Regions from separate parts of the Homo sapiens genome. Here region 1 is linked to region 2. Evidence: promoter capture Hi-C in 16 types of primary human blood cells and fetal thymus (Javierre and others, 2016). All regions are on one chromosome and are shown on one strand. Each heading gives the region's core, a stretch centred on a gene start or on the middle of the fragment in contact. The rest is flanking DNA. Distances are from core to core; before and after follow the strand shown. Region 1 holds the start of HOXB5 (homeobox B5). Region 2 overlaps SKAP1 (src kinase associated phosphoprotein 1).

Evidence for each region. Contacts are between HindIII fragments. The CHiCAGO score rates a contact against its expected background, and 5 or more counts as called.
Region 1: a contact is called between the fragment with the promoter of HOXB5 here and a fragment that was not itself captured in region 2, in 2 of 17 cell types (megakaryocytes and erythroblasts). The highest score is 7.6, in megakaryocytes.

The regions. Positions count from the first base shown.
Region 1 is chr17:48,592,529-48,598,601 of GRCh38, forward strand. It overlaps HOXB5 (homeobox B5), which reads right to left and starts at 1,251. Exons shown (of 2, transcript NM_002147.4): 1 at 593-1,251. The coding sequence starts at 1,154. The region is part of intron 1 of HOXB-AS3 (HOXB cluster antisense RNA 3); the gene reads left to right. HOXB6 (homeobox B6) reads right to left here. Exons shown (of 4, transcript NM_018952.5): 3 at 5,208-5,700; 4 at 3,223-4,144. The coding sequence starts at 5,622. The coding sequence ends at 3,885. RefSeq lists silencers at 875-924, 5,472-5,571 and enhancers at 1,181-1,688, 1,390-1,459, 1,689-2,194, 3,237-3,908, 3,966-4,135 and 1 more. The HindIII fragment of the contact is 5,828 bases long and covers 607-6,073 here.
Region 2 is chr17:48,374,933-48,380,979 of GRCh38, forward strand. The region is part of intron 2 of SKAP1 (src kinase associated phosphoprotein 1); the gene reads right to left. Among named protein-coding and RNA genes, the nearest start is that of SKAP1, 52 kb to the right of the region's middle. The HindIII fragment of the contact is 3,399 bases long and covers 589-3,987 here.

The DNA.
Region 1 (6,073 bases), core at 1-2,500, 220 kb after region 2:
CGGGGGAGCAGGACCCAGGCGTCCCGGCACCCAGCTCACCACAGCTCCAATCCTCTCTACTCCAGATGCCCACATTCAAGCTCGATTTCTGCACCCCTTTCTACTGCATCCCCCACTTCTGCAGGCAGCCAGTGCGCCCGGCTTTGTCTCTTGCTCGCTCCTAGTGCCTCACCCTTGGCTGGGCTCAGGCGGCCGCTCGCCCCGGGAGGGAGGAGAGCGGTTGCACTTTTGCCCCGGAAAGCTCCTTTTACTGTTCACCCCTTCTTTGCTAGCGACAGTCTCAAAATTTCAGGGGTAAGCAGGACCCTTCCCCACATTATATGAACCCCATCCTTTATCCTAAAGCTGGTTCAGCTGCGCTAATAAAAACCTAAGCCGAAGCTGGAAACAAATTATTAAAAATACCCCCCTCTTAACAGAGAGACCCTTTTTGGCTCTGTCTACGAAGCTATGAGGCCCCTCTTAGATACTTCTCCCCCTTAGAAAAATGAATCTATATTTAGGGTAAAGCCAAGCTCTCCTTGTCCCCCCGATCCCACCCCAAAACGCAGAGAAGGAAAGCCGAGAAGACAAAAAAGAGAGAGAGAATTACCATGGCTGATGTGAAGCTTCCTCATCCAGGGGAATATTTGCGGAGTCTGCCCCTCGGGCGCGGCTGTGGAGGTGGCCATGGGCTCTGGCTGCGCCCGAGCTAGGCTGGGGCTGCTTAGCTGGCTTGCCGCTTCCTCAGGCTCCGAGGACGCGCTGGCCTCGTCTATTTCGGTGAAATTGGCGCTGGAGCTGGCTGAGGTCGCCTGGTCGGAGGGGGACGAAGCAGAGGGCTTGGCGCCGTGGCTGTCGCCGTTGGTGCAGGGCAGGGACTCGGGCGAGGACAGGGAGCAGCTCGAAGCCGCTTGCCTGAAGCGGGGCTCCTGGGCGGGCGCGGGGAAGGCGCGCGAGCTCTCGCCCACCGCCCCAAAGTGGCTGGAGGAGGCCGAGGAGCGGTTGACGCTGAGGTCCATCCCATTGTAATTGTAGCCGTAAGAGCCGGTGTGCATGGCAGCGGGATCCCTGTAAGAGCCGCTCAGAGAGCTGCCACTGCCATAATTTAGCAACTGATAGTCCGGGCCATTTGGATAACGCCCCGAGAAGGAGTTTACAAAGTACGAGCTCATTTGGGTGATTTTGGAGGGCTTGATTTGTGGATCGTGGTCGTTATAACCCTGTGCTTCACGATTTATGATGTATTAATGAATTATAGCGATGCACTGTACTTCGTTTTGCTATGTATGCGGCCAAATATGGGGGGGGGGTTGGAAGGGGGGTGGGGGGCGTTAGGGAATCACGTGCTTTTGTTGACCAGTCGTAAATTCTCGCTGATGACCTCAAGAGGTAATTCATGCTCTATGGTTACAAATAATGACGATCCGAGAATCGTTAGGGCCGATTCAATGCGAGCCTCCGAGAGAGGGGGAAAAAAGGAGAAGGGGGAGAAACAGAGAGAAGGTTGGCTTTGGCCTCTGAGCAGAGCGCGCCACCTCCCGGCGACCGACGGGAGCGCGGGCGTGAGACCGCCATGGCGGCGGGCGGCTGCCTCCCTGCTGGCTCCCTGCAGGCTCCCTGCAGTCGCCGGGAGAGAAAGAAACCCGGCCAAGGCTCAGCCACAGGGTTGAGCCTTTTAGAGCAGGGGTTGGGCTTTTTACCCACTTTCTTGTGGGTGGGGTTAGCCTCTCTATTTGGTTCTTTCTCCCTACATCATCATTGTCGTTATTATTTTAACTTTGGATGAGAAGATCAAAGATAGAGTTGCTTTTCCCTTTCTTGGGCTTTGCAAGTCTCCGAATTGGAGGCGGAAATGGGGGAAGGGTTGGAAGTTGTGTGTGAAAAACAATTATTGCAACGGGTTTTCCCCAGGAGCTTAGTCCGGCCTGCATCCTGGTGGAACTGCTGTTACCGGTCCACAGCGCCCAGGCCGAGCCGGCAGGGCTGGGCGGGAGGCTTGAAAAAGAAGGAGAAGCGTTCACTTCTCCTGGGCCACTTGGAAGTTCGAAATCCCCTTCCGGACCTCCTTGGTGGTCCTTAGCCCAGGCGTGGGGAGTGACAGAGCAGGACAGGGACCCCAGAAACCGAGCACAGCTGGGGCTAAGCGGCCTAGTTGCCGAAAAGACTGCAGCGGCCACCGCGTCTGCTGCTTAGTTTGAGTAGTAACATGTGTCTGAGAGTTTGTAAAGCGGGATCCCTTCCCCTCCTCCTCGGCTATTGCATTCGGAGGCCCCACTACAGGTCCCTCACTCGCAGCTAGGCAGTTTGAGAATTTGCCTGGTGGCAGCCGCCTTCCCGGAAAAGGGGTTCCAAGGACCCGCATGCTTTGCTGAGCACGCTGGGCGGCCAGAGACCGCCGCAGCTGGTCTCCTATTAGGAGGGGACTATTTTCTTTAAAAATAAGAAAGGAAGCGAGAGGGCGGAGGAATAAAGGAAAACAGTGACCGCAGCTTGCCTTCTGGGTGCCGGTGCAAGCAGAGAGAGAATGAGCCATTCTGGGTTGAGAGGATGACACTAAAAGCCCCATCACCTGGCCTCCTGCCCTGGGGTCTCCAAGGAGCAAGGGAAAGTTGTGGCCTTCGGCCTGTGCCTGGCTGGTGGCTTTACATTCCCCTACTTGAGGCTGATCTCCTACTTGAGGCTGATCTGCTACTTGAGGTGGGAAGGGGCACCTGGAGCCTTCAGCTGCAGGGTGAGAGATACCCAGTGGCCCCATTTTTCAGTCTCCAGAGCCACAGGCCAGGAGCGGAGGGCCAAGGCTGGCGAAAAAACCTGGCCATGTGGACGGGCCAAAGACCAGGGGTCGCTGCGAAGGTGAGGACAGAAAAGCGCTGCAGAGGCCCCCAGACTATGGCTCCGTCTCCGCCAGAGAGCTTTAGGGGCCTCAGTGGCTCCCTTAGTGCTGTGTATACACGAGGAAAGGCTAGAGAATGAGAGGGACACAGCACCTCTCCATCCCCCAAGTCTGCACGGGGAGAAGCGGCTGTGAGCCTCAGCACCAGGGAAACGCAGCGCTGGGGCCTGGGCAGGACTGATCGCTCCAGCCTTTATCTCAGCTGTAACTTCCCAGTCGAACAGGGCTCGCTTCGGCGGGCCAGGGCTCTCGCCTTTGCTGAAGAATTCTGGCTCAGGAAAGATGGAGAGGCTGGGGGTTGAGGAGAGAGGAAAAAATGGCAGGGGAGGATTGGAGGTGACCGAGCGTCGAGTTTTCACATCTTTATTATTGTTGTTGTTGTTGTTATTATTATTATTATTATCATCATCATCATCATCATCATCATCGAAGTATTTCACGTCCAGAGCTAAGACAAGACTACAAACACAACACATAGAAAATTAATAAAATAGAACTTTGTTTTCTTCTGAGGCTCCTCTTCTTACTTCTAGGTAGTATGTGCTCCTTCCAGTGGCTTTGGGGAGGGGGTGGGAGAGACGACAGGTCTGGGATCAGGGAGTCTTCAAGGCCCCCGCTGAGGGGACAGCGAATCTACCATTGAACCGTGCACGGGGGACATGGACAAAATGAGACGCGACAGGGACAAGAGCATTTTGCTCTGCTTCCAGGAAACATCAAGTGAGTCCGCTCCTCAGTTCTCACCAGGAAGCCTGATCAGGCTGAGGCGAGTTCCTCGGGAAGGAAGGGCGCGCGGGATGCTGGGTGGGCTCGAGTAGTGAGGCCTCAGAGCACCCGCCGGGAGCTGTGCGGGCGGGGGCGTCCAGGAGAGCGCTGGGCCCCGCCTGTCTGCGCCGGAGAGCAGGTCTCCTGGCTCCCCCACCCGAGAGCCTTCCTTCCCGGGTCTCTCTGACGCCCTCGGCTCCCCACAGGCCTTTCCCCTCGCGTCCTCCCTCCCTTTCCAGCACCTTCACTCGGCCTGTTTTTCTTCCTCCTCCTCGGCACTGAGCTGAGACGCGCTGAGCAGTTTGCTCTCCTTTTTCCACTTCATGCGTCGGTTCTGGAACCATATCTTGATCTGCCTCTCCGTCAGGCACAGGGCGTGCGCGATCTCGATGCGCCGCCGCCGCGTCAGGTAGCGATTGTAGTGAAACTCCTTCTCCAGCTCCAGCGTCTGGTAACGTGTGTATGTCTGGCGGCCTCGCCGGCCGCTGGGCCCAAAGGAGGAACCTGTTACGCAGAGTGGAGATGCTGAGGCCTGCGGTCACCGGGCCCAGGACCCCCTCCCCTAGTCGACCCTCGAACACAGACTCCAGCCAGTACCGGGATGCCCTCTATTCTGCCGGCTCCCTTCCCCCGTTTCGCACTCCTCCAGCGCCCCCTCCAGATTCCCTCCTAGTCTCCTAGGCCTGTGCCGTCTGTCTAGACTCTAGATGGGGGAGGGGAGGAGCAGTTTGAACTCCCACCTGAGCCTGGGGGGAGGGGCTGGTCAGGTGTGTCTCTTCCTAGTTGCATCTTGTCTTTCCCTCCCTTTCCATCCATCTTGTTCCCACCCCCCGTCATCCCCCCAACCCAATGATAAATCCAGGCCGTTAATCCGTAATGACGTAGATCGATCCATAGTCCACATTAACGGCTCCTCACTTTCGAGTCCGGCTAATGGACATCAGTTGGGACTTAAGGCCAACAAATAATCCAACCTGAGACCCCGCGCCTGTTTCTCCCTCTCTCGCTCCGCCTGCTCCCTCTCTCTTCCTTCCCCTTATTCCTCCTCCCTCCTCTGACTACCACCCCTTTCCTGGTGCCTCATCTTGCCCCAGCTCCCCACCCACAGGGAAACACAGTCCCAGACAGACTCAACTCTTTCTCTTCAGCGTCACCCCCTACCCCCTTGCATGACGCACTCCGTTTTTAATGGAGCCGTCTTTGGTTGGGGAACCCTACCAGGGCTGGGAGAGGGGGGTTGGGGGCTCAAAGTAAAGCCAAGCCAGTGACTGCAGGCTCCTGCTCCCTTCCCTGTCCTGGAACCCCGGCTCTGGCCAGGCGCCCCAGGAGAGCACACTTGCTCCCCATGGCTCCCAGTGCGGCTGGGACTTTGCAAACTTTGTAACTCCTGCCTAATAGGGGACACAGCGAGAGACCCCCGGCCGGCGCCCAATCTTCTTCTATCTCCTAACTGAGATGCCCACCCAGCACCCTGTGGGAGATTGGGGCAGGGGGCGCTCACTAGTTCTGTGTCCCGGGGTGGGCGCCCAGGGGAGCCGGGGCGACGGCGACGGGAAGTCTCACTCACTGTTGCACGAATTCATCCGCTGCATCCACGGGTAGACCGGAGTGGAGCACTTCTGCTCTTCTGTCTCGCCGAACACGCTCTTGTCCTGCGCGCAGTCCGACTTCCGCGGCTCGGGGTGGAACGGGGGCTGCTCGTCGGCGCCGGAGAGTGCGCAGGCCGACTCTTTCTCGCGGTAGAAGGCCGGCGCCGGCCCGTAGTCGCAGGGCGCCGCTCGGCCGTAGCCACCGCCCGCCGGCGGGTAATAGGAGGAAGTGGCAAAGCCCTTGTCCTGGCCCGGCCCTGGCCCGTAGGGCGCGGGGTAATGTCTCAGCGGGTCCGCATAGCCCGACGAATAGAGCGGTAGCTGGCCCAGGAAGGACTCCTGCCCGCTGGCCAGAGTGACGGGGAAGGTGGAGTTCACGAAATAGGAACTCATTGGGAGGGGAGGCGCGCGCGGCCGCTGCTGCTCCGCCGGGTTTATGATTTGTTGTGTTTTATAGTCCGAGCGCCGCGCCTATTAGTAGTATATCCGAGATTGGGTTTTAGCTGAGGGGGGATGGCGAGGTGCCAGTGAGGGCCAGAAGGAAATACAACCATCTGATCCAACACTGACCAATGGCAGAGGCAGGAATTGTCAAATAGCACCCAGGAGGAGCGCAGCCCGCACGAGGGACCCGCGCACAAACCTATCAACCTTTTTTTTTTTCCTCCTTCTCCTTCGCCTTTCTCCTCTCTCCCCCCAACAACACAACGCGTCCTGTTCCACCTACGTAGGATCTGTGAAACAGGCTCAGTGCCTTTGAGGGAGGAGGGAACGTTTAGATTGAGACCACCCCACTCCCGGGTGATTAAATAAATATGTCTCTCCCCCACCCCACGCAGGATTG
Region 2 (6,047 bases), core at 1,038-3,537:
TTGGTGGAAGAGCTGGTGATCCTTCTAGTCCCAATTCCTTAATCTCACCAAAAGTACAAGACCTAATGCCTACCTACAAGGAGCTTACAATCTAGTCCAAAATATTAGCTCTTTGTATATAATGAGATGACAATCTAATATGATAAATACTACTGTAACAACAGACAATAGGCATATAACTCAATTATGTAATAGAAGAACATATCACAAGAAGGTCCCGGGTTCTTTTGGGGGATGTAATATTTCTGTGGTCTTGAGTCTATATTTACAAGCCCATCTAGGTAGATAATACAATGTTCACCTACCTACTAAATACAATGATCACAATCAAACTTATATTAAATAATAAACAACATTATCTGAGATTGACAGTATAACTCATCACCTGCTCCCCCACCACAATTTTTAAGTCCATTCCTGGACAGCAAAAAAGAAATTAAATTTTGAAAAGAAATTAAAGTACTATTTAACACTAGAGTCTCCTATAACACTTTTGCTACATGGAATCATTGCTATGGTCAATGAAACACCCACCATGAGTATAAACATTAAGAAACCTAAGAACTCTTTTTGATCAGTGAGTGATTAAGCTTTCTGATTGCAACACTGGAAACCCACATTCTAACATTCCTTCCCCTACTTTCTAGCATGAGGACTGTTTTTTCACCAGCAAATCTCACTAGTATGTCTACACAATCCCCATACTTCCTCCATGTAATAGGCAACAAACTATAATTCGATGAACTAATAAAGGAAAAATGCTAGCCAAATACATTATGGCAAAATAAAAACACTAAACAACAGGTCAGAGTTGGAGGGTTTTTTTCTGTAAATAAAAAGGAGTCATTGAAAGGTCTGTTTCTTTGTTTGTTTGTTTGTCTTTAAGGATAAAGAATGATGTCCACATCAAATCCAGCAGAGATGTGTAGCATGGATGGGAGGGAGAAAAGTGGGGAGATAGTTTAGGAAGCTACTTGAGAGCAAGAGAAAAGACAAGACATTAGATAACAGACTTAGAGACTGGCTAGGAGGAGAGCATCAAGAGGAAAGTCAGAGACGCCTTTCGGTTCCAAACTTGTGTATTGGAGAAAACAAGGTACTGCTTATGTACAAATAACTCCAGCTGATTACTGTATTCTAAACTGTTGTCTCTTTGGCCCTTGCTCTGTCATTTTTGTCACTGTTGACGCTTAAAAACCTAATTTTGTTTTATTTTTTGCTTGCTTCAGGTTAACAGCTACTCTTCGACCACTGAGACGCCATTATCTGATTAGTGAATAACTGGTAGCTGAGTGAATGTGTGACTGTGGCCCATATACTCACTGAATTTTACAGCTGGAAGGACACTTAAAATCATTTACTCTAGCCTTCACTTTACGGATGAGAACAATGAAGCATGGAGAGGTTATCTGATCGCACCATAGGAGTTTAAAAGTCCACACTGTGGGGCCACCACAGTTTATCTTGTACAGAATCAGGGGCAAGTTCAAAAATGTGATATTCATTTAAAAATGAGACAATTTCTACAAAAACATTTAAAACCTCCTTGGAAAAACTCGGCTATCATGCCTTTGATATTTTCCTTGTTATGAACATGGACATATTATTCACCTGAAGGCAAATGTTATGTAAAAAATTTTTAAGCTGGATTAGTTATTAGAGTTCATCTAGGCAAGGTGGATATCTCAGCATTAACATGCCAACACAGTCTCTGTATCTCAAGTTACGAATACTGCATTTGTTCTCTCAGTAGTAGAGATGAATAAATTTCCACTATTTGCCAGACACTCTGTGAGGGACTAAGAGCACAGAAAACCCAACTGTGGACCAGTTTGGCCGAAATAATCAAATTGTGTAGAAGTGATGTAATTGGCCCAGAACATGCAAATGGTAAAAACTGGGACCAGAAGAACCCATGTCTGACTAATGCCAGAATGTCTTACTGCCTGCACATAAGAGTTGCTAAGGGAGGATTCGAGATCAGAGAGAAGCCTGGAAGGGGAGGGTCGGGTCACAGAGAGGCCAGGCCCAAGATGCAGAGGGAGGTCAGGCAGAGGGGCCAGGTCCAGAAGAAGAGAAGGTGGCAAAGGACCAGCCTAGCACCCCAAAGCAGTTATGTTGAGTAAGGGACAGGGTAGGATACTGAGTAGGTTCCAACCTGAGAGCCTCTCTTTTCTCTTGTGAAGTAGGCTGTGACGTCATGGAAAGAGTGAGAAGCAATATGATGAGGTAAAGACTGACAAGGGTTTGCGGAGGAAAAAAAATTAAGGAAAAAGGTTGCTGATGTGGAGCATGTGAAATAACTACCAGTTATCACTAAGGGTTCGACTGAGGTTGAAGACTAAACTTTACTGTAGTGCAGCCAGGATGGAGACTCATGCCTATAATTCCAGCATTTTAGGAGGCCAAGGTGGGCAGATCACTTGAGTCCAGGAATTTCAGACCAGTCTGGGCAACATTGTGAGACCCCATCTCTAGAAAAAATAAAAAAAAAAATTAGCCATGTGTAGTGGCTTGTACCTGTGGTCCCAGCTACCTAAGAGGCTGAGGTGGGAGGACTGCTTTAGCCCAGGAGGTTGAGGCTGCAGTGAACCATGATTGTGCCACTACACTCCAGCATGGGTGACAGAGCAAGACCCTGTCTCAAAAAAAAAAAAAAAAATTAAATAAAAACATTTACTATGGCACAATCCAATTGTGCAATTTTTCTCCAGAACTGAATAGCTTTCCAGATATACAAACAGAGAAGATGAACAGTTGAACTGATGATCCAAGATTAGGATTTTTCTAGGCTTGTGGGATGAAAAGACAAGAGAATCAGAGAAGACTAGAGGACTAGAGGGATAGGTAATAGAGCTCAGGCTGACCAGAGAAGAAACCAATTGCCAAAGACTTCACTATAGTGCCTGCATATATTAAATACTTTAGTCCATTAAAACATTCAAAAGCAGGAGATATCATTACTCTTCTCTTTCAGGAGTAGAACTGTCCTTTGTCCCACAGGTCCCAAACTTCTCCTACCCCTGTGTTCCCTATTTCAATGGATGATATTACTATCCACCCAGCTGAAACTTGGGAATCATCCCTATACCTCTTTTTCTATTACTATATATATCCCATTAGTCACCAAGACCTGTAGATTCTACTCCCTTAATAACCTTTTAATCAATCTCCTCTCCATCTCTGCAGACACTGAGTTCATCTGAGCTTTCAAAAGGCCTCACCCACATCCATGTAACCACATCGCAAACGGTCCATCTGCCCTCATCCTCCTCCCTTTGACCTACTCTCCTCAGTGCTGATGAAAAAGGGAATGGAATGAGCATGAAGAGCAAAGTCTTTGCAGACAGGTCTGGGTTGAAGTCCCAGCTCCTCCATCTTCTAGCTGAGACTTTTGCTGCAGCCTTAGTTTCCTCATCTTTAAAACAGAAATAATAACCACATCTGCCTCATTTGGTTCTTGGGAGGACTAACAGAGGTAATGCACGTAAAGAACCTGGTAAACCTCCAATAAATGTCAGCTGTTAGTCATTAGCACCTTCATTATCTTAATGACCTAAAAGGCCAGCTTGGTCCTATCATTCTCCTGCTTGAAATCCTTCCATGGCTCACCTCAGCTCTCAGGTCCTCCCCGGCTCCCGTTCACACTCCTGCCTACTTGTTCAAGCACCCTCTGCCAGCAAACCTTTCCTTTCATGCCTCCTTCTTCTCCTAGCGGACCCTCCATGATCCTTTGAGGCTCAGCTAAGTGTCCTATGTTAGGGTTCCCACAGCACATCTGTGCATGCCTCTCAGTAGCACCTATAATACTGTATTAGCATCTTCTTGTCTCTCTGTCACTGAGCCCTCAAGGGGCAGTGGCATAGAGCTTGTGCTCAATAAATGTTTGCTAAATCAGCGAATGGAGGTAAGAAGCAGGAAGGGCTGTCTGAGTTCAGTATGAGACTCATTCAGTATAAGAGAGCATTTCAGGGAGGGGTAGGGACAAGCTTGGAGAGGCAGGCAAAGGGCAAGGCACTTCCAGGCAATGCTATGAAGTATGGATTTTATTCCAAAAAGGTGGGGCTGGGGTGCCTTCATTTTCCTCTAAATCACTCACACAAAGTCAAGAGGGGAAAAAAGAAAGAAAATCAAAGTAAGGGATGAAAAAGAAGAGAGACAAAAATAAGAAAGCTTTGTTAAATTGAAACCTTCATCCAAATGAAGAATTTTTTCCCCCAAAGCCTGGCTTCAAAGACAAACCACAAAATGACCAGTAAAAATATACTTCAAAAGACACGACTGAATACACATTGCGGTGGCAAGAATCCAATATATAAATACAATCAATTTGTTTCCTCATTAGAAGCTTTCATGAAGAAAATGATTTAATACAAATGCTAAAGTTACTGACATAGATTAATTGAAAAATAACAACAGAATCCTAATTAAAGATATAACATTATTTCACTCATTCACACTACACCAAAATGTGAATCAATAAATAACAGAATTTAGAAAGCCAGCTTCTACTGGTAACCACTCTAAGAACTACAATGAATTACTGACATTTTCATAAAATGCCTATCCTTATGTGTACACTTTCTTCTATTTAAGAACTGAGATGTATACAGAAATCCAGAAATCATTTTAAAATTATTTCACACTTTTCCTAAATTCGTACCATTTTACTTAATCCAGATTATTGCTTTTGCCCTCAAGTTGATTTTTTTCCCTAATTGTAAAGATTCTATACTAAAGTATCTTCTTCTTTTTTTTTTTTTTTTTGAGACAGAGTCTTACTCTGTTGCCCAGGCTGGAGTGCAGTGGCATAATCTCAGTTCACTGCAACCTCTGCCTCCCGGGTTCAAGCAATTCTCCTGCCTCGGCCTCCTGAGTAGCTGGGATTACAGGTGCCCGCCACCATGCACAGCTAATTCTTTTGTATTTTTAGTAGAGATGGAGTTTCACCGTATTGGCCAGGCTGGTCTCGAACACCTGACCTCGTCATCCGCCCGCCTTGGCCTCCCAAAGTGCTGGGATTACAGGCATGAGCCACCGTGCCCGGCCTAAAGTATCATTCTTACCCATTTACTACTTTGTCATAATTAAACCCTTACATAAAGTACCCAATTATCCAAGCCATAAAAAAATGGAATGGACTTTGATCTAAAAGCTAATGACTACGTGACCAGCTCTGTGGCTATATCAGTACAGGTCAGGGGTCCTCAGAGTTTCGATTACAATCAACCAGTCAATCCCAGGCTTTACCTGGCTCATCTTGGGACCAGGGCTTTCAGTTCTGTCTCACTTTGAGGGATTCTCCAGCATCAGAAACATCTTGAGATGTTGCCAGTTCACAAGGAAGCACAGAGCAGCATATGAACATATCCCCATCTCCTCACCCCAGGAGCTAATCAGGCTGAAATGTTGTCAGCTACTGACAGTTCTTAAGCCCTGCTGGAAAGATTTTCCCTTCATTGTTAAAATTCAGTTGAGAACCAAAATAGTCACTTACCTCAAAAACAAAAAACAAAAAACAGGGTATTCTGATAAAGATTTGTACACACTTTCCTGATCTTAAGAATCCCTTGGACCTTTTATTGAAGCACAAATTCTCAGGGTCCACCCCAGACCTAGTGAATTAGCATCTCCAGGGTAGGGGCCTAGAAATCTATATATTTTAACAAAATCCCCAGGTTTTTGTTAAAAAACCTGATGATGGGGCAGTTTTGGAAAATACGATAAAGGAAACAGATATTTACCAGTGGTTGCCCATTAAGGAAATTCTAGACAGGCAGCTCTCAATTCAAGTATTGACTGTATTCTAAAAGTTCATTTCCAGTTGTTTGGACCTTGGAATACATTTTCCTAATGAAACAAAGTTGAAAGTTGTCTGGGCCAGCTTTGAAAATCTATTAAATCTTGTTAACAGATCTGAAAATTTGTGAATACAGTCTTTAATTTTCAGACCAATCATATTTCGAAAGTTGAAGCATATATCCATAGAATGTATTTTCCCATTGACATAACATTCTGAAAAGTGGTTAGGGCACCAAATTGTATGC